4 separate regions of the Homo sapiens genome follow, and all the other regions are linked to region 4. The links are contacts of gene promoters, found by promoter capture Hi-C in blood cells and fetal thymus (Javierre and others, 2016). All regions are on one chromosome and are shown on one strand. The core of a region is centred on a gene start or on the middle of the fragment in contact, and the rest is flanking DNA. Distances in the headings are between cores, read along the strand shown. Region 1 has its middle 460 kb from the start of ERCC4. Region 2 overlaps SNX29 (sorting nexin 29). Region 3 has its middle 53 kb from the start of ERCC4. Region 4 holds the start of SHISA9 (shisa family member 9).

Evidence for each region. The method cuts DNA at HindIII sites, captures the fragments that hold promoters and counts their contacts. A CHiCAGO score of 5 or more calls a contact.
Region 1: a fragment that was not itself captured here is called in contact with the fragment with the promoter of SHISA9 in region 4 in 3 of 17 cell types (M1 macrophages, M2 macrophages and M0 macrophages); the score reaches 7.1 in M1 macrophages.
Region 2: a contact is called between a fragment that was not itself captured here and the fragment with the promoter of SHISA9 in region 4, in 1 of 17 cell types (neutrophils). The highest score is 5.7, in neutrophils.
Region 3: a contact is called between a fragment that was not itself captured here and the fragment with the promoter of SHISA9 in region 4, in 1 of 17 cell types (endothelial precursors). The highest score is 5.1, in endothelial precursors.

What each region holds. Positions count from the first base shown.
Region 1 is chr16:13,459,738-13,467,510 of GRCh38, reverse strand. It overlaps a transcript of SHISA9 not described here. Among named protein-coding and RNA genes, the nearest start is that of ERCC4, 460 kb to the left of the region's middle. RefSeq lists an enhancer at 7,491-7,773. The HindIII fragment of the contact is 3,984 bases long and covers 3,630-7,613 here.
Region 2 is chr16:12,331,133-12,338,165 of GRCh38, reverse strand. All of the region lies in intron 15 of SNX29 (sorting nexin 29), which reads right to left. Among named protein-coding and RNA genes, the nearest start is that of SNX29-AS2, 38 kb to the left of the region's middle. RefSeq lists an enhancer at 5,419-5,919. The HindIII fragment of the contact is 3,677 bases long and covers 1,938-5,614 here.
Region 3 is chr16:13,863,397-13,870,558 of GRCh38, reverse strand. No RefSeq gene overlaps it. Among named protein-coding and RNA genes, the nearest start is that of ERCC4, 53 kb to the left of the region's middle. RefSeq lists an enhancer at 4,173-4,467. The HindIII fragment of the contact is 750 bases long and covers 5,517-6,266 here.
Region 4 is chr16:12,895,877-12,903,170 of GRCh38, reverse strand. It overlaps SHISA9 (shisa family member 9), which reads right to left and starts at 1,573. Exons shown (of 5, transcript NM_001145204.3): 1 at 544-1,573. The coding sequence starts at 1,106. The HindIII fragment of the contact is 3,823 bases long and covers 1-3,292 here.

The DNA.
Region 1 (7,773 bases), core at 4,372-6,871, 560 kb before region 4:
TGATAGTGTGGCTCAGTCCAAGCCCTGAAGCCTCAAAACCAGGAAAGCCAATGGTACAGTCCCCAGTCTGAGTCTAAATGCCCTAGAACTCCCAGGAGGTGGCTAGTGCCAGGCTCAGAATTCAAAAGCTGAAGAACCTAGAGTCTGATGTCTAAGGTAGGAGGAGAAAAGTGTTCTGCTCTGGGGGAGTGGGAAAAAGAGAGAAAGAAAGAGAGAATCCTCCTTCTTCTGCCATGTTGTCCCAACTGGGCCCCCAGGAGATTGGATGCTACCCCCCCACATAGAAGGCGAGTCTTCCTCTCTCAGTGCACTGATTCACAGGTCAGTCTCTTCTGACAACACACTCACAGACACACCCAGAAACAATGCTTCACCATCCATCTAGGCACTCTTCAATCCAGTCAAGTCAACACATAAAACATTAATCAGCATAAGCCCACCCCTTGTCAACGTGGCAGCCATATGCATCTCTTTAAGCCATACTTAATTTCCAAATAAAGATCATAACAAGGTCATAATTCCACTTAAGATGATACAACTATCCTGAGTACAACCAAAACTGCACTAATCCCATTCCCAGAAGAGGAGGTAAAGTTCTTGAGTGACATTTACATTTCTCCTGATATCCTATAACTTAAGTACCATGATGTAAAATTAACAATGCTTAAGTGCTGATACAAAGTCAGTAAACCTAAATGCTATAATGTAAAATTAACAATGCTTAAATGCTGATACAAAGTTAATCAACATTATGTTACATGATAAAGGAATAAAAGAAGAAAGAAAATAAAGATATTTGCTTAACATATGTGATATATGCACAAATGTATTTTTAACAAAATAGGTGGAAATACTCATTACAGTTACAATCTTCATTTTTGAAACTGGTCATGTGGCTGTAGCTGACATTTATAATTACTTTTTTTAAAAAAACAACAACAACAACAACAACTACCCATTCTGTATTTCCTTTGCCCTCAATAAGCAACTCAGTTGGTCATGGCTTGTTACTTGGTGGGATGACCCAAACCTTCATTCCTAAAGAGTGTGGGCCATTTGTAGTCCTACCTGGATTGAGATGTTGTAGTTTTTCACTGACCCTAATCACAGGGCATGGTAATTTTAAGGGATGCCCTAACGGATCTCCTGTATTCCAGACACACTCTTCCTTACTGCCATTGCGGAGCAGTATTTAATTTCCCCTTGATTGTCCAGATCAATCATCCCAGCCAGCACCATCACTCTCTTCTTAGCCTGTTGACTCAGAAGCATAGAAGCCCCAAGTGGCCGCGTGGCAGTCTTAACTCCCAGTTCAATGGGATCATTGTAGTGTTTCCTAGTAGAAGCATTTCTCCTTCTGGAACTAAGACCTCTAGGCCAGCAGAACATAACATTGTGGGAACAGGAAGTACAAATTTTGCTAGTGGGTCACTAGGGGTAATGGTTAATGGTGCACATCCCCCAATCCACTCAAGCTGATGCCAAAAAAATTAGCCATCACACAAACTTTTTCCGTAAAGGGGCAGATTGCAAATCATGTGGGCCTTTCAGGCCATGCAGTCTCTGTTACTACTAGCCAACTCTGTGGCTATAGCAGGAAGGCAGTCATAAGTAATATGTACCTAAATGGATTTGCCTGTGTTATAATGAAACTACTTGTCAAAACAGGCAGTGGGCCACATTTGACCCATTGGCCATAGTTGGCCAGCCTCTACACTAAATCGTTGCAGCAGCTTTTTCTTTCTGGAGAGGTAGAGGGGGGAGAGAGACAGGTCCATGGAGTCAGACAGATTGGGGCTTGAACCTGGATCTGCCTTCAAAGGTGTATCACCTTGAGATAAATGACTCAGCTTTCTGAGGCTCTGTGGAGATTTGTTGACTTTTCTCCCTAGCATCCTTCCCCTTCTCCTTCCTGAGGTAGCAAGACAACAGGTACCATTTGATATCTTTGTTCTATATTGCAGTTCAACTTCTCCTTATGCCAAATCCTGTGATTCTCATGCCCTTATGGGTATTGTTTCTCCCCAGTCAACCTGGCTTAAGGTGATATCTTTTCAAATCCATGCCCCACAACCTACTAGAAATCCTAGCCTCGTGGACGAAATCTTATTGGACTTTTCCTTTGACCTCCAGTTCTGCCAAAATGAACCTGCCCCACGTTCAACTTCATTTGAGGGATGATTTCTAGCATTATTCTGTGCTTCAAAGCAGCAGTCCTCAACTGGGGTGACTGTGTCCCCAAAACACATCTGGCAATGCCTGGAGGCATTTTTGGTTGCCAGAGTTTGGGCAGAGGGCTGCTGGCATCTAACAAGTAGAGGCTGAGGATGTTGCTAAATGCTCTGCAAATCACAGGAGTAATGCAATGCTCCTTCCTCCACCTACCCAGCCCCCTACCCCCAGAATAGATCATTATTTCTTCCAAAATGTTAATAAGACTGAGGTATAGAAGCCCTGCTACAAGGTTAATGGCAAATAGTAGCCTTTTCTTTGGTAAAAGGTATGTTTTAGGATAATGTCTCCATTATCCTTCCTAAGAAAATCTTTAATCCACTAGGCCCCTAAATATCAACATTAGAAAAAGCTGTCTATCTGTTTGAGGGTTTATGGAAGTCTATCTAGATGTAGGATTTAATGAATTACTCATGTCTTTATTTTTCTGAACTGTAAAAGGTGGGGGGTGGGGGTGGGCATAGAAATAGAACATATCTCGGGAATTTTATGAGGACCAAGGGCTACTAACTATGTGAATTCCTCAGGATAGCGCCCAGTACTTAGTAAGCACTCAACTTCAGCCACCATTTTTATTTACTTTACTGTATATTTGTAGTAAAGGTAGTAGTGGTAGTAAACGGGAAAATTTCCGGTTGCTCTAATCAGGGAAAGCAAATCAGTGGTTTTGGGAAAGAGGGAGGCAATTTCAGCTTGAACCAAAACAAAATTGACATGAAATTCCAAGAAAGGGGCTTTAGCTTTAGACAAGAAACTCTAGTTCAGACTCAAGTTGCAAAATCAAAATACACATTCAAAGCATCTGAGCACTTAGGCTGATAGGGAGAACCAGAGTTGGAGGAAATAGCACCAGTTTTGGGGCTTCAGGATTGTAAGTTTTGGACTGATTTTGCACAAAGCTTAGCAGCCATCCATGAGAAACCCATGGTAAGACAGGCCAGTGAAAGAATGGTGGCATCGACCAAGTGTGATTCTCAAACTCCTCCAACAGGTCAGGGAGGCCTTGGCAACATCTCCCTGCAGATGAGGTGATTATTCTTTAGAGCTACCCTTAATTAAACCCTAAGTGCTAGGTAGCACACTTACCTGGAAAGCTTCCTCCAATCCTCACAATTACTCTATAAAGAAAGTCACAGAGTTAATCTAATTATGCCCATTTTAAAGATAAGGTAACTGAGGCATGGAAAGCTTAAGAGATGAAACTTCTGTGTAATTCTCATGACAGACAAGTAGTGGAATGAGGAGAAAAGAGGATGCAGTTTGAGTCTGAGAGAACCTGGATCTTTCTGTTAATTAGCATTGCCTTTGGGCATAACGTAACTAGGAAAAAATTTTTAAAGAACAATCCTGCCAACTAAATAGTGAAGCAATTAGATGAAAGTCAATATTAACAAGCTTCTGCAATTCCAGGGAGCCAACGGCAGGGATTCAGAAGCCTCTGCCACTTGGCAATTTTGTAGACTTGTGGCCTAAGGGGAAGGGATGTGACACGGGAATCAATTCTTTGCCTGCTGATTAGCCCATTTGCTCGATATTTCCTGAGCAGCCAGCAGTCCTGTCCCAGCCACAACCATGAGGGCGCTGCCAAACTGGAAATGATGAAATAAAGAATCTGCTAAGGAAGCTCTTTCTTTAAGGCAACAGAGCTTCCTGGTTTGTACCTATTCATGACTTACAAATGCTATTTTTTCCTTCTTTTAGACCTTGGCTACCAGAAGCACCAAGCCAAGATCAAGATTATCACTCTCAATAGGTGACGTTTAATTCCTTCATTTCTGCAACTGAGAAGGCAACAGAGCTCCCGAGCAACTCTTCAGAGTAGGTGAAGCCCTCCAGCCACAACAGTCCCAGGAATCTTTCCAGACTCCTCTCTGTGTTCCACAACTTTCAAGAACTCTTTCTCCAAGTACTGCTGATTCCACCTGCACGCTGCCTCTCCTGCCCACATGGTCCTCTCTCTCTCCACACCTGCTACTTAGTTCCCATCCTCACTTTCCTCAGGATTGAACTATTGCAATAGCTTCCTCACGGGTCATGCCATGCTCTTTCTTCCCAATCTATCCTTCACATGAAAGCTATAGTGAACTTTCTACACTGCAGGGTTTTTTGTTTGTTTTTTGAGACAGGGTCTCACTCTGTCACCCAGACAAAACAGAGTGCAATGGCACTATCACAGCTCACTGCAACCTTCCCCCCCCAGGCTCAAGTGATCCTCCCACCTCAGCCTCCCTGGTAGCTGGGACCACAGGCATGTGCCACCACACCCAGCTAACTTTTTTGTATTTTTATTTTTTATTTATTTATTTATTTATTTTTTAAGATGGAGTCTCCCTCTGTCGCTCAGGCTGGAGTGCAATGGTGCGATCTCGGCTCCCTGCAACCTCTGCCTCCCGGGTTCAAGTGATTCTCCTGCCTCGGCCTCCTGAGTAGCTAGGATTACTGGCGCCCGCCACCACGCCTGGCTAATTTTTGTGTTTTTAGTAGAGACGCGGTTTCACCATGTTGGCCAGGCTGGTCTCGAACTTCTGACTTCAGGTGATCCCCCCGCCTCGGCCTCCTAAACTGCTACGATTACACGTGTGAGCCACTGTGCCTGCCCAACTTTTTTATATTTTTAGTACAGACAGGGTTTTACCATGTTGGCCAGGCTGGTTTCGAACTCGTGACCTCAAAGCCATCTGCCTGCCTCTGCCTCCCAAAGTGCTGGGATTACAGGTGTGAGCCACAGCACCCAGCCTACATTGCAGTTTTGCCTGTACCTTAGATGGTCCCAGAACAATAGAATGAAATTAAGCTCATTAACGAGACATAATATCCTCTGAAATCTAGGCCTCACCTAATCCTTCACCCTCATCTCTCACACCTGTTTTCTTCAGGCCTCTGTATTGAGTGATCTGTTAGTTTCCTGAACTTTTTTTACCTTTATACATGCTGTTTCTTTTGTCTGAATTACTTTTTCTTCCTTCTCCAACCTGAATGAGATTAAATAAGTGGTTTGACTCTATTTATTTATTTTTAAAGAATTTTTTTTTTTGGTAGAGGTAGGGGTCTCACCATGTTGCCCAGGCTCATCTTGAACTCCTGGGCTCGAATAATCCTCCCACCTCAGGCTCTTGAGTAGCTGGGACTACAGGTGGATGCCACCATACCCAGCTATTTTTTTTTCTTTAAGCAGAGATGTGGGTCTCACTATGTTGCTCAGCCTGGTCTTGAACTCCTGTCCTCAAGTGATCCTCCTGCCTCAGCCTCCCAAAGTGCTACATGAATAGATTAATAAGACTGGAAAATACTAGGTATGCAACAATTCTTCTTTATTGAATGGGTGAATACTTCCTGGGTGAATACTTCCTTAAGAAAGTAAGTCTAGGCCGGGCACGGTGGCTCACGCCTGTAATCCCAGCACTTTGGGAGGCCGAGGTGGGCGGATCACGAGGTCAGGAGATCGAGACCATCCTGGCTAACACGGTGAAACCCCGTCTCTACTAAAAATACAAAAAATTAGCTGGGCGTGGTGGCGGGCGCCTGTGGTCCCAGCTACTCGAGAGGCTGAGGCAGGAGAATGGCGTGAACCTGGGAGGCGGAGCTTGCAGTGAGCCGAGATCATGCCACTGCACTCTAGCCTGGGTGACAGAGGGTCTCAAAAAAAAAAAAAAAATTAAAAAAAAAAAAAAAGAAAGTCTATAAATCTTTTTTTTTTTTGAGAGGGAGTTTTGCTCTTGTTGCCCAGGCTGGAGTGCAATGGCACAGTCTCGGCTCGCTACAACTTCTGCCTCCAGGGGTCAGGCGATTCCCCAGCCTCAGCCTCACGAGTAGCTGGGTTTACAGGCTTGTGCCACCACGTCCGGCTAATTTTGTATTTTTAGCAGAGACAGAGTTTCATCATGTTGATCAGGCTGGTCTGGAACTCCTGAGCTCAGGTGATCCACCCGCCTTGGCCTCCCAAAGTGCTGGGATTACAGGTGTTAGCCACTGCGCTTGGCTGTAAGTCTATAACTCTTTAGAGAACCACTAAACCTGAAGGGCTAGGTGTCTTGGGTTCAGCCACCAGGACAGTGCCTCAGCCAGTCTTTGAGGACACTAAGAGTTGCCCAAGAGAGGCAAGTGTGCACAGGTTGGGAGAGCTGTCAGAACTGCAGGCTTGAGTTTCTATTAATATTATTGCCATCTCTGCAAGGGTGCCACCTTCATTTGCCAAAGATGTTTGAGCAAATCAAAACTGTCTCGTTGATATGTTGTCTATTGGATAAATGACATGTTGAGAAATGGATTACTGCCTGAGACAGCAAAAGACACAAGTAGAAAGCTGAAAGTGGTTTTAACAAGGAGCGATGAAGGACAAGGATGGGTGTGCTCATGCCATACTGAGCGGCTGGTTGGCAGAAGGTGATGACTCTGGAAGGCAAGTCCAGTTTCTCTGAATGTGGGGCAGGATTTGCCACAAGACCTAACCGTAGTATTCTGCATCATTACAAATCCAGACCAGCTGTAGTCGACCTAGGACAAGTCACACCAGAGAGAAGGAAGGCAGATTCTGCCCATAATATGAATCTCACTAACCTTGGGCTGCTTTAGAGTTAGACCCATGGATCCTCATGAGCACCCTTGTTCTAAGATATCCAACTGATAAGCTCTATCATATCCTTTTAAGCATCAAACAAGTTCTACTCGAACCTATCCATCCATATGTGACAGGCACTGTGGTTGTCCCTAAAAACACAAACTACTAGAAAACTCATGGGCTTTGGAGGAATTACACATTCTTGAGTGCCAGGCCTGATTCTGGCATTTACCAACTGTGGGACATTTGTCAACTCACATAACTTCTGATCTTGGGGTTCCTCCTCTGTAAAGTGGAGCTAATATGATGGATCGGGGGGGCTTGTTGTGAGGATTAGAGAAATGAGCATAAAGTTTCCAGCACACAGTAAATGACTGATATATAATGAGTCTTGATATCATTATGATGTGACCCTGATGATACCATTCTTCTCCATGAGGTGTTCATGGAGCAGCCTCATTTTGAGGTTGCATGTGTGTGTTCTGTTTGTATATCATATAGACCCCCATCTCCCAGAGGACAGGGATGATATTTGTTCTTCTGGTATTTGCCATGAATCCAGGATTGATGGGTATGCAGTAGACACTCAATCACTGTCCATTGAATATGCAAATGGATATGTTTAGGGATAATACTAATAACCATATAGGCTGCGTGTGGTGGCTCGTGTCTGTAATCCCAGCACTTTGGGAGGCTCAGGTGGGAGGATCACTTGAGCCTGGGAGGCAGAGTTTGTAGTGAGCAGAGATCATGCCACTGCACTCTAGCCTAGGCGACAGTGTGAGTGTCCCTGTTAAAAAAATATTCATAATCATATAAAGCTTGATGCTGACTATAAAAATATCTCAGGACTCATACACACTTGTTTCTTTTCCCATACCCCTTATCTCAAGGCAGAGTAGCTTCTAATGGCCAGATAACGGCATGATGCCTTTCCTTTTGTCCTTTGCTTCTAAGTTAATTGTGTTACAACACTTCCATTA
Region 2 (7,033 bases), core at 2,527-5,026, 570 kb after region 4:
TTGATCCGCCTCCCACCTCCCTAATGACTCAGCCCCAGAAAACACTGATGACCCATTAGGTAGAAATCTACTTATGCTAAGAAAATAAGCCAAACACCGGTTCCAGGATGCACTGAATAGCTCCAAATGCAGGTGCTTCCTCGGCTCCTCTGGCAGTCGCTGTGAAGAGAACCTGGATTCAACCCAAAGACCGCAGCACTTTCAAGGTGAAGCGGCTGTGAGAGGGCCATGGAAGTGTCACCCGACCGTTCCTCGGCTGCAGAAACTTCCACTTGCAACCTGTTTTCTTCTTCGGAGCTTTTATACCCAGGACATAAAGAGGACTGTCCCAGACTTGAGATGATGAGGGAAGATGCTGACAATGGCAGCAAAATCTCAGGGTTTCTCCATGAGGCCATTGTCCTCACTCGGCCAGGGAAACCACGCCATCACCGTCACTGAATGACAATCCTTCCCTTCGTCCATAAAATCTGGGGCAAATGGGTCACATGTTTGCAAGTATTCTTCTTCAAAGTGAGATATGTGACTAGGTGAAGTGGCTCACACCTGTAATCCTAGCACTTTCGCAGGCCGAGGTGGGAGGATCGCTTGAACCCAGGAGTTTAGGACCAGCCTGGACAATATGGCAAAACCTCGTCTCTACAGAAAATATAAAAGTTAGCCGGGCATGATGGTACGTGCCTGTAGTCCCAGCTACTGGGGAAGCTGAGGTGGGAGGATCACTTGAGCCCAGGAGGTCGAGGCTGTGGTGAACCGAGATCGCACCACTGCACTCCAGCCTGGGTAGCACAGCAAGACCCTGTCTTGAACAACAACAACAACAAAACACCCATCGCATTGCATACCTTAAATCCACATAATTTCCCGTTACCATTTATACCTCAATATAGCTAAGTAAAAAAAAAAAATTAATATACCTATCTCCAGCAACTGTGGAGACAGTGTGACATAAAAGGAACCTCTGGAGGGAAGACAAACCTACTGCTGCCTCCCAGCCCCATCACCTGCCAGCTGGGTGGCCTTCAGAAGGTGACATGCTTTATGCAAACTCAGTTCCTTGTCTGTAAAAGAGTTTAGCACTACCTGCTGCCCAAGATGGTTAAGATCAAACTGAGAAAACATCTCCCAGGCCTGGCCAACTCTGGTGCTCAATGATGCCCAGTCCCTCTGCCTTCCAAGGCTTCTTGTGGTGTCTGTTTTTTGTTTGTTTGTTTGTTTTTGAGACAGGGTCTTACTTTGTTGCCCAAGCTGGAGTATGGTGGCACCATCATAGCTCACTGCAGCCACAACTTCCTGGACTCAAGTGATCCTCCCATATTAGCCTTCTGCGTAGCTGGGATTACAGGTACACATCACCACACCTGGCTAATTTTTTTCAATTTTAGTAGAGACGGAGTTTCACCATGTTGGCCAGTATGGTCTCCAACTCCTGGACTCAAGCGATCCTCCTGCTTCGGCCTCCCAAAGTGCTGGGATTACAAGCATGAGCTACTGTACTCAGCCAACAGAGTTCTCTCATACCTTGATGTTCCATCTCTAAAATGGAAGGACAGGTGACTTGTCACTTGCCAACCCTTCAGAATATACAATGAAGTGCAAATTTCACCACTCCAAATGCAAACCCTGAGTAAAGAGAAAACACAGTATTCCAATATCTTTTCTCTGAGGGGAAAAAATTTTAAGCTATGGGCATGACTGCAACACAAACCATCCAGTGAAACGTGCCAACACGTCCAGGCCAATCTCAACAACACGGTGACAGACACAGGGCAGCAGGGACACAGTTTCATGTCAAGATTTGTTGTTAAATTCTTGCCAAGAACTGCTCTGCCATCAAATTTATTTACGGCTTCTGTGTCAACGCAGGATGCTGAGCAGAGAGTCTATTCTGAATACCTTGGCTTTAACTGTGTTACAGTGAGCGCCAAACCAAAGCTTTCTCCCTACAGGCTGGAAGACCCGCAATATGAAGCCATTTCAACCTCCTGTTAGCTACTCTGAGAATAATCAATGTCTCTGGGTCTGTGGTGATGGCCTAATTTATTTAAAATGTAAATATTATATTTCTCTATGTCCCAAAATGCCAGCTGGTTCTTCTTCTTTGATTTAATAAGGGTTTCATAAAGATATCAAGTGCTGGGCCGTTGTCACAAACACAGACCCAGACAGACTGTCTTCCCGGATGTGCCTTGACCCACAGGAAGCAGGAGAGGGTAGCGGTGGAGGTGGAGTCCAACTGCCTGGGTTCAAATCCTGATCCTGCCAGTGATGAGCCACATGAGCTTGAGCATGTGGTGATCCTGCCTGGGCCTTGGCGTCCTCATTAGTAAACGGGAAGGATAACTATGGTACCCAGTTCACTGAGTTATTGTGAAAAATTCACTGAAATAATCTGGGGAAGGCACTTAACACACTGTCTAGCACATAAAGAAATGCAAAGAGCATTGGCTGCTCTCATCATGACCACCAGCTTCCCCCAAACCCCCAACGCTGACACGGTCTCACTCCGTCACCCCGTCTGGAGTGCAGCAGCACCATCGTAGCTCACTGCAGCCTCAAATGCCTAGGCTCAAGAGATCCTCCCACCTCAGCCTCCTGAGTAGCTGGGAATACAGGCACATGCAACCATGCCCAGCTAATTTTTTTAATGTTTTGTAGAGATGGGGTGGGAGGGGTCCTCCCTATGTTGCCCAGGCTGGTCTTGAACTCTTGACCTGAAGAGATCCTTCCATCTTGGCCTCTCAAAGTGCTGGGATTACAGGTGTGAGCCACTGCACCTGGCCTTATAGTCACCACTAAACATCACTGATTTGAGCTTTTTTTGCTTGATGAAATGAATTCTTATACTCCCAGCAGCAAGAGTTTCACTTCAAGTAAAATTAAAGAATCTTTTCCAAGTCTGGATGACTCCTCCCCCTACCTCCCTGCTGTCCTGGAGTTCAAGGCCCTCAAAGATCTATAACTCAGACATTTAAGACAATAGCGAGATGATGATCCACCTTCCTGGAGATTGCAGCCCCTCTGTCCTGGGACACCACTCTGGGAAGTGCTGCTAAGTGTCCTGCTCCCCTGCTGCAGATGATGTCATTTCCCACAGGAACGGTAGTGAAGCGACAGTCAACCTCCCCTCACATGCATCTTGGCAGGGTTTGTTTTCTGACGCATATTCGCTGACGGAATGCTCAGTCGATGACAGGCCCAAAGGTTTGTGTATGACATCAAATTTGAAAGACTGTTGCTTTTTAAAAAAAAAAAAAAAAAAAAGGCTCTGGGGCTGATAACTTAAAGCAAAAGGGGCTGACACAAATGCCTATAGGGACCAGGCAGGTAAAATAATTGAGAGAAGCAGGCTAGGTGGGGATGGGGTGACATGGTGAGGACTGCCCTCTTGAAAACAGGGCCACCACTACTGAGCCCCAAGTGAACACACCCACCTATGTGGGAGCTTTCCATTTTCTCAAGGGAAATTGGAAATAGTGAGCTTTATGGGAAATGGCCCGAATGTTCAGCATTGTCAATAAATTCAATCCTAAAAACCGAATTAGCCAAATCAAACAGATCTATGGGCTATATGCAGCCCAGGATGCCAGATTCTTATCTTTGATTTAAAGGGGTCCCATAATGTTTGCGGGGAAGGATACTTTGTCATCAGAATAGCATCCCTGTGTCCCTGTTTTATGCATCAAGATTAAGTGAAATCATTCATGCAAAGTGGTTTGCACGGTGCCGAACACAAAAGAACATTCGAATGCACCCGGGGATGATTTTTTTCCCCAAGGTGGGACTCACCTACACAGGAAGACAGAGCTTCACAAAAGCGAAGCCCCAGACCTCAAAGTCTCTCATGTTTCTCTACCAAAGGACCCACCAACAAACAGTTGCTGTGAAAGTTGCCCCAAGCTAAGCGAGTTCCTTGGCGGTGTGCTTTGTTTCAAAACATGCCATCCCAAAGATCTCCAGACTGCTTAGGTTTTTAAACCAACATTTGTCATTTTGCTGCACTTGTCTTTACTCAAAACCTCAAAGACCTAAAGTGGATGGCTTCAGAGGTGACAGTGTCTTTGAAGTGTTTCCCTACGTCTAGCTGAAAGGGATGAGCCATGTTTTCGCTTCCCTACAAGGCCGTCTAAAAATTAAACATCCCAGATATTTAACAAACACACCCATCAGCCACAGGGGAAGACAAGGAACATCCCCATGAGGTTACATTCATTTCAGTGAGATGGCAAAGATAAATGCAGGGCACGGAAACGCGGGATGCATCTGCCTGGCAGCCACACCTGTCATTCTCCATTCGGGTCTCTGAGAATAACTGGAATGGACCTGGCTAAACATGGCCTTTTCTACCTCAGCCATCCTACAGGGTAGGACCCTCCTTCCTGCCCAGTCCCCAGGACATAGGCTCTGTGAGAGATACAGATAATGGCTGAAGTAATAAGACCTTCTCACCTGCTTGGGAAGAAATTCTTATCAGGAGCCATGAAAAGATTAGAGAGTCCGGACTGGGAGCCCTGGGGAAGAGGAAATCACACCCTCTTCATCACAGCTACAAGCCCAACACCTAGACAGCACCAGGCCCATCACAGGTGCTTGATAAATGTTGTTGAATGAACAAAGGTACACTGAATTCAGCACACCCATACTGATCATTGATCAGATGTAATTGATCAAATTACTTAATCTCTGAGCTTCAGCTTTCTTCTCTCTCAAACAGGGAAAACTCTACCAACATCCTAAGAGTTGTAAAAATTAACTGATTGCGGCCAGGTGCGGTGGCTCACGTCTGTAATCCCAACACTTTGGGAGGCCGAGGCAGGCAGATCACGAGGTCAGGAGTTCAAGACGAGCCTGACCAATATGGTGAAATCCCATCTCTACTAAAATACACAAAAATTAGCCGGGCATGGTGGCACGCACCTGTAGTCCCAGTTACTTGGGAGGCTGAGGCAGGACAATCACTTGAACTTGGTAGGCGGAAGTTGCAGTGAGCCAAGATCGCACCACTGCACTCCAGCCTGGACAACAGAACAAGACTCTGCCTCAAAAAAAAAAAAAAAAATTAACTGATTGCCTGCAAAACATTTGTGAATGAACAAATGCACACTGCTAAATATCCAGGATGCTAAATACTCCATTCCCTTCATTCTTTCCTCCCTTCTTCCATTTCCTCCCCTCTGAAATACTGCCTGCGGAGCGTCTGTACATGCACACTAACCGCACGAGCAGGGGTGGCCATGAGGGTCTCAAAGCGGGCCCAGGAGAGAAGTGAGCTTGGAGGTGAGGCTTGAAGGACGAGGGCACATGGAGTGACGAAGCAGGCGGGCAACAGCAGCCAAGACGAAATGAAAGAGGAGCAGACAGGACCGTGAGGACTGACGAGGAGACCAGAGGCCAGAAGAACCAAGGGCAGGAATGGGGAAGTGCTAGAGATCAGGCTGGGAGGATAAGAGAAAGACAGAGGTGCCCAACCCTGGTGGCGGCCAGGGGCTGGGATGCAGGTGGACCTGGAAGGTGGGCCTAAGGACGGGGTTCTTGAGCGTCAAAAGCACCTGCCCATGGACCTCGGGGGAGCTCACAACCACTCCACCATGCAGCACTGGGTCTTCCTCAAGCTTTGTGATCATGGCCTTCAATATGACGAGGACGGGGGAGGATAGAGTCATCACTTTAACAGGCAAAAGGCGCACAAAGAGAGTAACACATTTTTAAAACGCCACCAATAACACAGCTTTAACAAGCCTTTCCTAACAGGCACGACTAGCAAATGAGCAACCCAGCTAGATGCCAAAGTTAATTTGCTCAGAAACTATGGAAAATGACGGAGCTTCATGCAGGGGAAAGCCAGATGCAACCATTTGGCAACGAGCTGAAGACACGCACTTGTGCATGCATATGCCCGTGCACACACACACAAACACACACAAGGACGCAAGTGCACACACCGCACGCACACCTGGCTCTGAGTCAGGTGAAAGTTCATTTTCCCTGACCATCAATTTTCTTCTAGGATGAGGATAATAGTAATAATGTTAATAACAGCATCAGTAACAGCAAAAGTAAGTAATGCTCACATTGTAAATTATTTCTTTATTATTATTATTTTTTTGAGATGGAGTTTCGCTCTGTCACCCAGGCTCCAGTGCAGTGGCATGATCTTGGCTCACTGCAGGCTCCACCTACTAGGTTCAAGCGATCCTCCTGTGTCAGCCTCCCAAGTAGCTGGGACTACAGGCGTGCGCCACCACTTGCCTGCTAAGGTTCCTGGGGCATTCACTGTGCTTGGCCAAATTGTTTAATTCTTAAAACAATATTCTGGCCAGGCATGGTGGCTCACACTTGTAATCCCAGCACATTGGGAGGCTGAGGCAGGCAGATCACCTGAGGTCAGGAGTTCAAGACCAGCCTGGCCAACATGGTGAAACGACATCTCTACTAAAAATACAAAAGTTAGCCAGGTGTGGAGGCGGGCGCCTGTAGTCCCAGCTACTTCAGAGACTGAGGCAGGAGATTTGCATGAACCCAGGAGGCAGAGGCTGCAGTGAGCCAAGATCGCTGCCACTGCACTCCAGCCTGGGCAACAGAGTGAGACTTCATCTCAAAAACAAAAAAATTCTGGAACAGGTCTTCTGTGTTCTCATTTCACAGGTGGGGAAACTGAGGCTCAGAGACATTAAGGAACATGCCCACAATGACACAGTGTGTCAGATACAACACCTCATGCTCTCAGCACCTATACGTACGCTATGCTGCTTCAAATGCTTTTTGGAATAAGACCAGGTAAAAATGAATAAAAATTAAATCAAAGTTTAGACAGCTTCTGTGTCTTTTTCTGGTACCAAGCTAGGCCCAAGAAATGCATGACCAAGGGACCCACTTGGAGCACGTAGAGAAGGCTCTGTCCTGTAAATCTCATGATCTCTGTGTAGGAGTTTCTAGGAGTGAAACCGGGCAGCCAAGCCCAGCAGCCTGGAAAGTTGGGCTCAGCAGCTGAGGCCAAAGCTCTCTCTGGAGAAGGGCCAGTCAGGCCTGCCAA
Region 3 (7,162 bases), core at 4,642-7,141, 960 kb before region 4:
TAATGACATATGATCTGCAGCATCTTTCTTTTTTTTTTTTTTTCTTGGAGATGGAATCTCGCTCTGTTGCCCAGGCTGGAGTGCAGTGGTGCAATCTCTGCTCACTGCACCCTCTGCCTCCCGGTTCAAGCATTTCTTCTGCCTCAGTCTCCTGAATAGCTGGGACTACAGGCGTGTGCCACCAGACCTGGCCAATTTTTTTGTATTTTTTTTTTTTTTAGTAGAGACGGGGTTTCGCCAAGTTAGTCAGGATGGTCTCAATCTCTTGACCTCATGATCCACCTGTCTCTGCCTCCCAGAGTGCTGGGATTACAGGCGTGAGCCACTGCGCCTGGCCAGCATCTTTCATATGCTTGTTTTCCATATGGATATCTTTTTTTTTTTTTTTTTTTTTAACAGCGTCTCACTCTGTCACTCAGGCTGGGCTGTAGTGGCGTGATCTCGGCTCACTGCAACCTCTGCCTCCTGGGTTCAAGCAATTCTCCTGCCTCAGCCTCCTGAGTAGCTGGGATTATAGGCACGTACCACCACACCCAGCTAATTTTTGTATTTTTAGTAGAGATGGGGTTTCACCATGTTAGCCAGGCTGGTCTCAAACTCCAGACCTCATGATCCGCCCACCTCGGCCTCCCAAAGTGTTGGGATTACAGGTGTAAGCCACCGTGCCCGGCCCATATGCATGTCTTTTTGATGAGGTGTCTGTTAAGGTCTTTGATACATTTTTTTTTTTGTATTAGGTTGTTTTATTTCTTATTGTTGAGTTTTCAGTTATTTTTGTATGTTTTGAATAATAATCCTTTGTCAGACACGTCTTTTGCAAGTATTTTTTTCTCAGTTGGTGGCTTGGCTTTTCATTCTATTGATAGTGTCTTTTACAAAGAAGGAATTTTTAATATTAGTGAAGTCCAACTTATCAATTGGTTCTTTCATGAATTGTGCCTTTGGTGTTGTGTCTAAAAAGTCATTGACAAACCCAATGTCATCTAGAATTTCTCTTATGTTATTTTCTAGTACTCTTACAGTTTTGAATTTTACATTTCGATCTACGATCAATTTTGAGTTTTTTTTTAGGGGTATAAGATCTGGGTCTAAATTTTGTTTGTACATGGATGTCAGGTTGTTTCAGCACCATTTGTCAAAAACCATATCTTTTCTTCATTATGTTGACTTTACTCCTTTGTCAAAGATCAGTTTATATATGTGAGCCTATTTCTGTACTCTCCGTACTGTTCCACTGATGTATTTGTCTGTTCTTTTACCAGTACTACACTATTTTGATTACTGTAGCTTTACAGTATTAGCTATTCTGTTTTTTCTTTTTCTTTTTTTTTTCTTTTTGCCTCTCTATATAAACCTTAGAGTCAGTTTGTCAATATTCACAAAATTACTTTCTGGGATTTTGATTGAGATTGTATTGAGTCTATAGATCAAGCAAGGAAGAACTGACATTTTGACAATATTGAGTCTTTCTATCCATGAACATGGAATATCTTTCCATTTATTTAGTTCTTGTATTGCTTTCATTAGTTTTGTAGTTTTCTTTATATAGATCTTATACATATTTTGTTATATTTATATCTAAGTATTTAATTTTTGGAGGGGGTGCTAATGGAAATGGTATTGTGTTTTTAGTTTCAAATTCCATTTGTTAATTGCTGGTATATAGGAAATCAATGGACTTTTCTATATTAACCTTGTGCTCTGCAACTTTGCTATAATTGCTTATTAGTTCCAGTAATGTTTTTGTTGGTTCTTCCCAATCGATCTAAAGGAAAAACCTCTCTACCCATCACCAAATTGGAGGAGAATGTTGCTGCCTTCTGGGAGATATATACAGAGAAGTTTATAGCTAACAGCTTTCTTACAGCTACAAGGAAACTGGTTTTAAGATAATACTAATGCTTTGGCTGGCAGAGTAGCAAGATGGAAAGAACCTAGGTCCTTAACAATATCATCGAGTGGCTGAAAAAAACCAGCTCTGAATCCCGCCCAATCTCGGAAATCCCTAGACTTCCTGTTAAATGAGATATATTAAATTGTCTTTATTGTTCAAACTAGATAAAATTGATATTTTGGTTATTTGTAGTAATAGTTTTCCTTTTTAAAACAGACTTTAAAAGGAAACTGAAGTTTAGAGAAGTTAGCACCAACAGCAGCATCAACAACAACGATATTAAATGACAAAGCCAAGACTCCAACCCTTGATAGTCTGCAGGCTACACTCCATGCCCAAACCCAGTCCCACAGTGTTGCCTCCTCGTGAATACAATATAGAAAGTGTTTGGGAGTTTCTCAGGGGTTTGAGGAAGGGGGAGAGAAATAACTGACAAGTAGGGAAGATGTGGAAAATATTAAATAAACCCCATTATTCCCATAGAACTTGGAACAATAGACATGCCAGCAAAGAGAAAAAATGCTTGGTTCAAACTCTAGTAGAGAGATACAGTTATACTACAAACTTTGATAAACTTCATGGGACTTGAATTTTGATGTAAACTACAATTGATGCTTTTGTGTATTTTTGGAGGGACTACCCTACCCTTTTTAATCTTCCTTCCCTTCGTTTCTTGTTCTGTGATTAGGAGATGGGAAGAGATCATTTTCCTACTTAAAACCAAAAGAAAAAGCCCACATCCCTTTAGTCCAGAATAAAGGATAGGTTGACAAGTCATCACTACTTGATTTTACTTTTGTTGCTATCTCCTGGAGTGTGACTTATTGGACCTTTGCCTAAAGTTGGATTTGCTTGTCACTTAGATGTTGCAAAGTAGCTTCACGAAAGCTCTCTTAGCAAACTTGCTGATTGATGGAATGGATGATGCAGTTGAAACTGAAATCTGCTGAGAGACAAAGTAGAGAAAAATTTTGATTGTTAGAAAAATCAAGAAAGTAACTTCACTAGAAAAAGCAGAAGTTGTTTTCAAATAGTAGGCTCCACTGCATGCTATAGGACCTTACATTTTTATTTTGAAAAGGTTTAAGAATACAGAAAGCTTGAATAGGCATTTCTCCAAGGAAGATACATAAATGGCCAATAAGTAGATGAAAAGGTGTTCAATATCATCATTAAGGACATGCAACCCAAAACCACAGTGAAATATCCCTTCATACCTACTAGGATGGCTATAACAACAACAACAACAAAGAGAAGATAGTGTTAGCGAGGATGGGGAGAAATTGGAACCCTTATGAAGCGCTGGTTGGAATGTAGGACGGTTTAGATGCTATGGAAAGGAGTATAGTGGTTCCTCAAAAAATGAAACATAGAGTTACCATATGACCTAGCAATTCTGTTCCTAGGTATACAACAAAAAATTGGAAACACGGACTCCAATAGTTACTTCCATGGCAATGTTTATTGTAGCATTATTCACAATAGCCAAAAGGTGAAAACAACCCAAGAGTTCATCAACAGATGAATAAATAAACAAAATGTGGTACACACACACACACACACACACACACACACACACACGCTGGGGTATTATTCAGCCATAAAAAGAAAGAAAGTTCTGATACATGTTACAACATGGATTGACTTTGAAAGCATTATGCTAAGTGATATAGGCCAACAAAAAGGACAAATATTGTGTGATTCTACTTGTATGAAATATCTAGAATAGGGAAATTTATAGAGACAGAAGGTAGATTAGAAGTTACCAAAGGCCAAGGGAGAGGAGCATAAGGAGTTATTGCTTATTGCTCTCTCTTTAGGGTGGTGAAATTTTGGAAATAGACAGTGGTGATGGTTTTACAACACTGTGAATGTAATTAGTAAAATTTAAACAAAAAATACAAAAAGGAACAGAGAATAATATAGCAGTCACCCATGCAACCACTGGGTAGAATTGACAAATATTAACAATTTTATTTTATTTACTTCAGATGTTTCTTAAAAATAAAGCAAAACAGTGGCGGTGGTTTTACAACATTGTGAATGTAATTTGTAAAATTTAAAGACAAAATGCAAAAAGGAACAGAGAATAATATAGCAGCCACCCATGCAACCACTGGGTAGAATTGACAAATATTAACATTTTATTTTATTTACTTCAGATGTTTCTTAAAAATAAAGCAAAACATTGCTGATACAGTTTTTCCCATGTAGCAGATATGATTAGTATCCCATGCCACATCCCTTGGCCAATCTCTTTAGGCCTCTTGCAGCTATGGTGGATGGTTTCCAGGCACGCTGACTGCTTACGCCCTGGAGCACACGTTTCTCTGCCCCAGGGTTCCCTCTAGTGGCGAGAGAGCTTGCTTAGCCCGTCCACAGGGCAATCCCAAAGGACTGGAGGCGCAATGCCCCAAGGTCAATCCTCGATCAATGAGAGAAGGGAGTTGGAAAATAATTATCCCAGCTGCCTTGTCCCTTAGTGGATTGATTCTGAGGCATGGCTATTCAGGAGGTTCCTGCTGAGATTGAGTCCCAATTGCCCTAGATTAATACACACTTTATTGACTTACTCCCCTTCCCGTCTCTCTTTCCCTGCATCCTTACTATCTTCCTGCAATTGCCACCCCAATAAACTACTTGCATCAGACTCCTTGTTTCAGGCTCTGTTTTCAGAAGAGCCCAAAGTAGGACAGCCGCTTCCACTCTGTTCCTTTCTTCATTCATAAGAAGCAATCACTTTCATGAAGATGGTGTAAATGCTCCTGACCTATGTTTTTAAACTTGTGGCTAATACATCAACAATATACAGTTTAATGGATTTTAATAATTTTGTGAATGGTATCATTTTGTATGTGTATGCGTGTGTGTGTGTGTGTGTGTGTGTGATTCTACAACTTGTTTTTCTCACTCAATGTTTTTGAGATTGCTCCATGTGATAAGAGAGACCTGGTTCATTATTTGTAAGCACTGTGTGTAATTCTCACTATTGTATGACTGAACCACATTTTGTTTAACCACTCACCCCCATGATGAGCATTCATGCTTTTCCCCTGTGTTTTGCTATTAGAAAACATGTTCCAATGAACACTCTAACACCTTTGTTTTGTTTTTTTTTTTTTGAGACAGAGTCTCACTCTGTCGCCTAGGCTGGAGTGCAGGACTTCTTTGCAGAGTGTTTAAATAAAATGTTTGTTTAAACAGCAGCTAGGCTGGGCCCTTGTGGATTTATTTACTGGTCATTAGCTGCTAGAAGGAGAAGATGGGGAACAATAAGCTGAGAAGCTTCAATTAAAAGCTAGAAATTCCTGCCATTGAATATGAAGAAATGGATATGAGTAAAGTTGTAAATATCCAAGGGAAATTAATAATAATAATAAAAAGGACCCCTTTAAACCCAAACTCTATTTACAAGCAACCGTCTTCAAAGCTTGGCAGACACTGTTTCCTCTTCACGGACTACTCTTTGCAGCCATATCTCTGCCTGCCTAATTTCATTTAAGCTTCTACCCTTTCAGTTCTCCTTTTCAGGAAGCATTCTCTGACCTCTTGTATCAGGATAATTACACCAGTTGCATGACGGGCCAAACCTGAAATCCCAAAAGTTAAACACAATAAAGCTTATTTCTCACTCACATAAAGTGCCATGTAGGTTGAGCAGCCCTATACCGCCATGCTGCTGTTGGGGCATCTGAAACACGTGGACTTCAAGCTCTCTGAAGAGAGAAGAGGGGAGAGAGGAAGAGGAAGCAGAACAGCTCCTAATGACTTTGACCAGGAAGTGACATGTGTTACTTCTGCTCACGGTCTCTTGGTCAGAATTAGTCACATGACTCCATTGTAACTGCAGAGAAAGGTGGAAAATATAGGGGGCAATATAGAATATTTGGTGAGGATGAACAAGATTAGTCTTGTTAATCTGCTATACCATCAAGATTGTATCTGCTATGCCATCAAGAGTAGGTTGAGTGTCCTTTCTATGGGTTTTTAAATCAGCCAATCATAGCACTTCTCTCTCTTTCCCTTTTGATAATTTCCTGTGTATTAGTCCACCCAAGTCCCAAGCCTATAAATTCTTTGAAAGAACTAGAACTCATTCTCATTGGATCTTTTGCACTCAACCAAACACGGCACATTCAATAACACTCAATAGTTATTGAATACAAGGTAAAAGAAAAGGAATAAGTGGCTCTTCCAGGAATACAGCCATTAAAAAAATGGAGGCATAATTGTTTTTATATAAATCTCTAGCCTAGGAGATTGATTGTTTTATCTGTGGATCAGATAGCCTTTAATCTTCTAGATGTCAATCAAGTTCTTTGATCTGAGAAACTTCTGACAGGAGCATTTGAAATCTCCTCTCCCGTAAGCTTGTACAAGTGGTATATTTAATACCAGGCTCTATTCAAAGCTTCTTGGCTTTATTTTAGCTTGCCTATTAATTATGACTTCTTTTATGTCTTCCTATCATGCATACACAAATTAGGGACAACAAACTTATGACTTTTTCCCCTGAAACATGACCCATTTAAAAAAATTATTATTGTATTAGTCAGGGTTCTCCAGAGAAATAGAAGCAATAGAACCAATAGTATCTACCATTGGTTAGTATAAATAAGGAGGAATTGGTTTATGCTATTATGGAGGTAGGGAGGTCCCACAACCTATTTTCTGCAAGCTGGAGGCTCAGGGAAACCAGTGGTGCAATTCAGTCTGAGTTTGAAGCCTGAGAACCAGAGGAGCTGATGGAATAAATCCCAATCTAACGGGAGGAAGAGATGAAATGAGATGTCCCAGCTCAAACAGTGAGGCAGGGAAAAAAAGGGCAAATTCCTGCTTCCCCTGCCTTTTGTTCTACTCAGGTCGTCAGTGGATTGAATGATGCTCAACCACTTTGGGGAGGGAAATCTACCTTACTGAGCTCACTGATTCAAATGCCAGTCCCATCCAGAAGCAATCACAGACACCCCCAGAAACAATGTTTAATCTGGCCATCTCATGGCTCACTGAAGATGACACATAAATTTAACCACCACAATTATTATTATGTTTATGTAAAAGTAATATACACTTGTAAGGTATGTATTAGGGTGATGTTAGCTGCTATAACAAAAAAACCCCCATAAATATCAATGGCTTATTCAAATAGGTTTAATGTGGATATTTCCAATGGGCAGGTAGCTTTCTGTGCAGTGAAACGGGGAGGAAGCCTCCTTCTATCTTCTGTTCCTCTCTCCTCTAGGGCCTCAGAGTACTCTAATTCCACTT
Region 4 (7,294 bases), core at 324-2,823:
TTCTCGCCCTCCCCTCACTCCACCTCCCTCGTCTCCTTTTCGCGAGTCGTACGAGTTGCAGGCGGCACTCACTCTGACCCTCCCTCCTTCACACACGCGCGCTCGGGCTCACACACGCCCCCCTCCCCTTTCGGGCTCGCCTGCCCCTGTTTACCAAAAAGCTAGCACCTGGAATCCGAGGGGTGCCATGGACCCTCTCCCCAAACCCGAAGATTTCGGGGCCACGGGCTCCCAGGCTACGTGTCTCAAGTCCGCCTCAGTCACCAGCGGGAGGAGGCGGCCAGAGGGTGAGGGAGCAGAGTCACACACACACACACACACGCTCACACACACACGAACACGCTCAGACCCACACCTGTGCTGAGCCCAGCGCCCCTTCTCCGTGTTCCAAGCCGAAGTTGGCTTCCCGGTGACATCCCCCAGCGGAGAGGCTGGGATGCGGGGAGCGGGGACCGTGGGGAGCGCCATTGCCTGGGGGAAGGTGGGGAGGAGAGAGCAGGGAGAGCGAAGCCCCGAGGGGAGGGCGAAGGGGAGGCAGCCCACCTGGACATGTGCTCCCTTTGGGGCCGGTGCGCTTTCTCCAGCCCCAGCTTGGTGAAGATGCCCACGAGCACCATGACGGCCACCACCCCGCAGATGATGTAGACGATCAGGTTGGTCTTGTCCTTGGTGGGGTCGTGCAAGGGGTCGTCCTTGCGGGCGGGGGGCTTGCCGGTGTTGAGCCAGAGCGGCGTGTCGTAGTTGGTGCAGGTGCTTTGGTTCAGTCGCCGCTTCTTAAACGTGCAGCAGAACCGGAAGCCACAAGTCCCGCAGCAGAAGATGAAGTCGCCCGAGCTGCAGTTGAACGGCGGGTCCCACTGGCCCATGACATCGAAGTAGCCCCGGCAGAAGTCCGGCGTGGGCGCCCGGGTCGGGGGCGCGTCCGATGCCTCAGCGCCCTCGCTGGCCTCTCCGGAGGCGGCCCCGGAGCGGTTGCCCCCCGCCAGCAGCAACACGCCGCCCAGTTGCGCCAGCTGCCCGTGTCCCGCTCGCTCCTGCGCCCGGCACACGCGGGCGCACAGCTCGGTGAGGAAGCAACCGAGGAGCAGCCGAAGGACGCGGCGCATGGTGTCTCCCAGCCCGGGCTCGGCCGCTCGGCCGCCGCTGGAGCCTCTGCGGCCGCCTCTCGAGGCGCGGCCGAAGCTGCCGAGGCTGCTGCCGGGAGCTGCGAGCCGCCGCGGGCCGCACATGCAGGGAGCGGCGCGGGGCGCTCGGTGGTCGGCGGCCACTGCGCTCGGCTCAGCCCGCGTTCGCCTCAGCCCGCGTTCGCCTCCAGCGCGCCGCGCGCCGAGGGGCCGGCCGGGGAGGAGCGCGCCCGGCCGGGCGGGGGGAGGATGAGCGGGGTCAAGCGCGGGGTGCAGGTCCGGCCGGCCACTGGGTGAGGCGGGGGTGGAGAGCAGAGGAGAATCGGGCTGGCAGCGCCTAGCCTTGGCCGGCAGCCCCGGACTGGCCGCCCCTAGCCCTCTCGCAGTATCCCTCTCACCTCACCAGCTCGCCAAGTGCGCTGAAGAGAGCGAAGCGACACTTGTGGAATGAAGGGAGGGCAGGAGGGAAGGGGGAGGGGGAGGAGGGCGGGCAGAGGAGGCGCGGGTGGGGGGGGGCGGGCGCGAGCTCTAGAGGGGCGGGGGCGCGGGGAAGAGGTGACTAGAGCGGGAGCTAGCTGGGGGGCGTGCAGAGCTGAGCCAGGCGAGCGGACGGGGAGGAGCGAGCTCGGCAGCAGCCGAGGCTAGAGGAGCCGCTCGGATTTCCAGGCAGGTGGAAAACCGCGGCAGGACCTCCCGCGCCCTCTCTGGGTAGGAGGCGCGGCTCAGCCCTGTCCAGAGCGCAGAGGCGGCTCAGCTCGTAGCTTTTTCACCGGTGCGTGTGCAGGAGCGGCGGCCGAAATCTGTGCATCAGGGGAAGGATGACTCGGAGAGGATGGGGACAGACTAAATGGCTTTCACTCCAAGACAGACTGGGTGCAGTCTGGTCAGGATCGCCCCTCCCAGGCGTGCGGGGCCTCCTTGCCCTTCCCGGCTGCGCCCTCCAGCCCTGAGCGCAACCCGCATGGCTCAACTCTCTGGGCCCAAGCAAGGACCCAGGCGGAGCTGGGAAGGACAGGTGGCAAGCCCCTGAGCCAGGGATAAGCACCCTCCGGGGGAGAGGGGCTCGGGATGAACGAATCAAAGAAGGTCGGGGGTAAGAGGGGACAGCCGAACAAGGCCGAGGCTATGGCGTGTCCTGGAAGGTCTTTCCTTGGAAGTCCCCCAGCCTCTCGAACCTGCCGCTTTCTGTCCCTCTTCGCCCCCGCAGCGTTTTCTGCGCTCCACAGGAGGGAACACCGCGGCGCCGCCTCTGCGCTCCCGGATCTGGCGCAGCGCAAGGCCTGGGCACCCAGCCTCAGCCACCCTCCCGGACCTGGAGCCCGCGCATCGGTCTCTGGAGCTGGCTGGCCCCTGTCCCCACGGATCCCCCCGGAAATCCTCACCGGGGGCTGCAGAGCTCTGCCTTGCTTCCTCAGCTTCCAGCCTCCCGTCTCCTCTGTGTTTCCAAATCTGCCCTCTCTCTCCTAGCGAATTCCAGCTCCCCGGAGGCCCTCTCTCATTTCTCCCACCTCTTTCTCTCCTCTGCTTGAATTTGACTCCAGTAGCCCCAAAACAGGATTTGCACCAAAGCTGCTACACCAAATTTAGATCTCCCCACGCCCCGGCGTTTTGTTTTTTAATTGCATTAACTAAGTATACACTTTGCAGGCTGCTAGGCGATTTGCAAGGAGATAATGTTTCCACAACCCTCCTCTCCACTTGGCTGCAGTCAAGGGCTTCTCAGGGCATCTTCAGAGAACGAAAAGTTGGGCGACATGTAAAATGGTTTACTAGGGTCCCCTGAATTGAGAAAGGGTGGGAGGATTTATTGGGACTCTGTTGCAAGTTTTCTCCAAATGAGAAGTTTGGCTAATCGCCCCTTCTCTTTGAAAAAAAAAGTCACATTTTGATGTTTCAAAAAAGATTTGCAAACACACAGCAAGACATTGACAGGGCATACCCAGGAGTATTATATTCCAAACCCATCTGGGGAAGGTATGAACACGTTTAATCCAGATTCACCAGATTCATTATAATAGAATCCCCAAAATAGGAGAGTATGGAAAGTCTGTCATGACTGGCAACCCACGCCCACCACCACCTTGTGAGTCCTACAAACACAAGCACTGGTGTGTGAGAGCTAATGAGAGCTGACATTTATTCAGTGCCTGCAACATACTCACTAAGCTTGCTTTTTCTAAAAGCAGCTCCTCAAGAAAGCTTAGAGCAGTGCCCAGCGTATAGCAGACAGTCTGGAAATATTTGCTGAACCACCGAGTGACTGGTTTCATGTAACTCTCTCTCCCTTAGGTAATAGTACCAGGCCCACACAACAGAGGGAGAGAATGAGCCCCAAAGCAGTTAAACCAGTTGCCCAAGTAGCTCTGCCAAATGAGTGCCAGAATTGACATTTGACCCAAGAAATTTGAGTCCAGAAACTGCCCTCCAGCCACTACATGAAATAGGCCTCCAAACTTTCTGTCTACCTCCTACTATATTATGTATTTGCGTTTTCGTCTGTTTGCCTGCACTGAGATGTGAACTGTGTAATGGAGAGGGCCTCGACTCCCATACCATGTCCCCAGCCCCTAGAACCCAGGCATACGGAGCTGCCTTGCGGGTCCATGGCTGCGCCCTCCAGCCCTGTGCGCAACTCCAGGGATTTGAGCCTTTGGGGTTGTGCGGGGCTGCAGGGTGCAGCCCCGGGGTACAGTTCTAAGCATGGTAAACACTCAAAAAAATGCATGGGTTGTATTAATTAATTTATGCAAGACTCTGTCTTAAACCAAAAGAGGAAAGGAACACTTAGGGCATGGATGATGGAGTATCTGCTGTCATTATGTATATAAAGGGTGGGAGTTTTCTATATACTACATTGGAAATGGAAAGGGACCCTCCAGCGGGCTTCCTATGTTCCAGGAAGCTGTGGCTCAGAGGTTAAGACCTTTGTGGGAGATCACATGGACAGCAATGACCCCACCAGGGCTGGATTTAGACGCCCAACTCCTAACCCCGGCCTCTTCCTCCACTCTGTGTCCGACTCCACTTCAGCAGGTATTAGGGCAGAGTTTAACCAGGGACATGGGAGAACAGTAGGTCACAGGGTTCTTTCTGCAAGGGTTGGGAGTTTTAAGGTACTTGTAAATTTGATTAAAAAAATACTTCAGAGAAAAGAGACAAAATCTGGACAGAAAAGTCCATTTCAGAATCTGCTTCCAATCTCTGTAAAATATTGCATGTCACCTGGACATTTGACTCCGGTCCTCAGAGGAGGCTCACTGTGACTGCTGCTCCTCGCTTTAATTAACAGAGACTGCCCCCTGTTTGTGTCAAGAAGAGCGCAGAGCTTGTGCTGGGGAAGGAAGCAGAAAGCCACCCTGTGTGGCTTATGTGCCAATGATTCTAAACCTTAAAACTCCTATCCCATCATGAGCTTTCCCCAAACCAGATTCCCTTCCTGTTCCTGTCTGCTGTAGTGGCCACCACTCCCTGGTATATTGCCCCAGCCTGTTTCCCAAGCCTTTGAAAAATATTAAAAAGAGAGAAGAATCCTCTGGGTTCATTTTACTCTGCAAAGAAAAAAGTCAATTTCCTCTGAGCATATCAAGTCAGTAAATACAGTTACTACCATGGGTGGGTACTTACTGGGAACAAACACCTGTATGGAAAATGTGAGTGAGAAAGTATTTATTTCAGGGCTCCTGGCAGGGAGGGGTAGGCATTATAAATGACCTAATTGGAACACCTGGTGAGCTCATGGAAGATTAAAAATCATCAGCAATGTCCCCCCACCATGACCCAAATGAATTCATGCAAACGCATTGATATTAAAATGCAGCTCTTAATGAAAGTGCTTTCTATGAAAGAGAGGGTGACATTATTATTTACAACACAGGCACTTTTAATATCTAAAGAAGAATCTCATTTGCTCTAGCCTTAATTATGTCAGACTGCAGTACACACAGCAAAAAGAATGCAATTGTACTCCCTAACAATTAGAGAAGGGAACCATGTCTTAATAACAAAGGATGTTTGGTTACCAGGACATTGCAACCACTGTTCATAAGCAACTCAACAAATTGAATTATATGTGCTCTGGCCCTCACCAAAATGAGTGGTTTGTTAATTGTCCTCCTCAAGTGGCTTTTAGGGTTTCAAAGAGGTTTTTAAGCAGCTGTTAGCCTTGAGGAGAAAAAAAAAAAAAGAGAAAAAAACATAAGTGAAATGTAGCTAGCACCTTGCCAGTTTCAAGCAATAAGCTGATTTGATGTATTTGATTCTCTCCTGAAGAGATGAGGGAAGCCTTAGAGAAGTGAGCTAGGTCTGAGCCAGATGCGGTGGCTCACACCTGTAATCCCAACACTTTGGGAGGCTGAGGTGGGCGGATCATGAGGTCAGGAGTTCAAGACCAGCCTGGCCAATATTGTGAAACCCCATCTCTACTAAAAATACAAAAGTTAGCCAGGCGTGGTGGTGCATGCCTGTAATCCCAGCTATTAGAGAGGCTGAGGAAGAAGAATTCCTTGAACCTGGGAGGCAGAGGTTGCAGCGAGCCAAGATCACACCCCTGCACTCCAGCCTGGGCAACAGAAGGATACTCCATCTCAAAAAAAAAAGTGAACTAGGTATGAAGTTTGGTTCCCCGGGACTGGTGGTGGTAGGGAAGATGATTTTTGGTGGTACCCCAACAAAGATCTTTTTTATATCAATGGTTTTACAGATATTTCAATGTGTATTCGAAAGAAAATAATAATGCATCAAACATGGATTCACTGGAATAAATGTTTAAGGTGTATAGTTAATAATTTTAAGTCTATCAATGTAAAGTCAATTATGGAAAAAAGACATTATAGTATTTACAAATAAAGAAATAAAAATAAAGAAAACAATGTGAAGTGTCTGGTACTAAAAACTGAAGTTTAGGAAGCACAGGCTTTGGTTTTCCCTCAATCCAGGGTTTCTCAATCTCAGCACTATAGACATTTTGGAGTGGATAATTCTGTGTTGGGGTGGGCGGGAGGTGAAGCGCTACTCCCTGGAAAATTGCCCCAGCCTGTTTCCTGAGCCTTTGAAAAATATTAAAAGGAGAAAAGAATCATCCGGGTTCATTTTGCTCTGCAAAGAAAAAAAGTCGATTTCCTCCGAACACATCAAGTCAGTAAATACAGTCACTACCATAGGTGGGTACTTTTTGGGAATCTGCCCCTGTATGGAACATGTGGGTGAGAAAGTCTTGTGCTGTCTTGTTCATTGTAGGACATTTAACAGCATCCCTGTACTCTACCCATTAGATGCCAATAGCACCCCCTGGTTGTGACAAACAAAAATGCTGCTAGACGTTGCCAAATGTCCCCTGAGGGGCAAAATTGACTGAAACCCAGAGTCATGGCTGTGTTTAAGTTCTGGCTCTTTCTCATAGGATATCTATGACTTTGAATAAATCACTTAATCTCTCCAAGCTTAGTTTTCTCATCTGGAAAACGGGAATAAGAAGGGTGCCTATACCCAGGGATGTTACAGATGATTGATACTTTGCATAAAGTGGGTGGCCAGCGAGTAGAACCTCAGCAGTGCTTAATAAATGGTCACTCTTACTATAGTAAACCTGAAGGATGACAAGATGCCAGGCAATGAGCTGATGTCCAGGAAGATAGATGACTGAGACAAGGGCTTTGCCCTCCATGATCTCAAAATCTTCAGGGGAAGATGAAATATAGAGACAGAGAAGGCCTTATGGGTATGGGACTTGTGCAGTCCCACAGTTCTCCATGTTCTAAAGGGCCCCATGCTTGGTTCAGTGCTCGGCACTGGGAAAAATCATTTTGACTTTTGCACTGAGCACCACCAATATTGTAGCTGGTCCCGTAAACAGGTGATGCACCTCTAGCAGAAATAGGGGTTAAGGTTACAGGAACTTAAAAGAGGATGTTTAGCTCCATTTACAGAGGAAAGGATGGCTTCTCAGGGATGGCAGCATTTGAGAAGTCATAGTTAAACGCATGTAAGCATTTTCAGAAGCAGCAGGAAGAATTTTGGTAGACATTCTTCAAAAGCAGTTCTTAGGCCAGGCGGGGTGGCTCACGCCTGTAATCTCAGCACTTTGGGAGGCTGAGGCGGGCAGATCACCTGAGGTCAGGAGTACGAGACCAGCCTGGCCAACATGGTGAAACCCTATCTCTACTAAAAATACC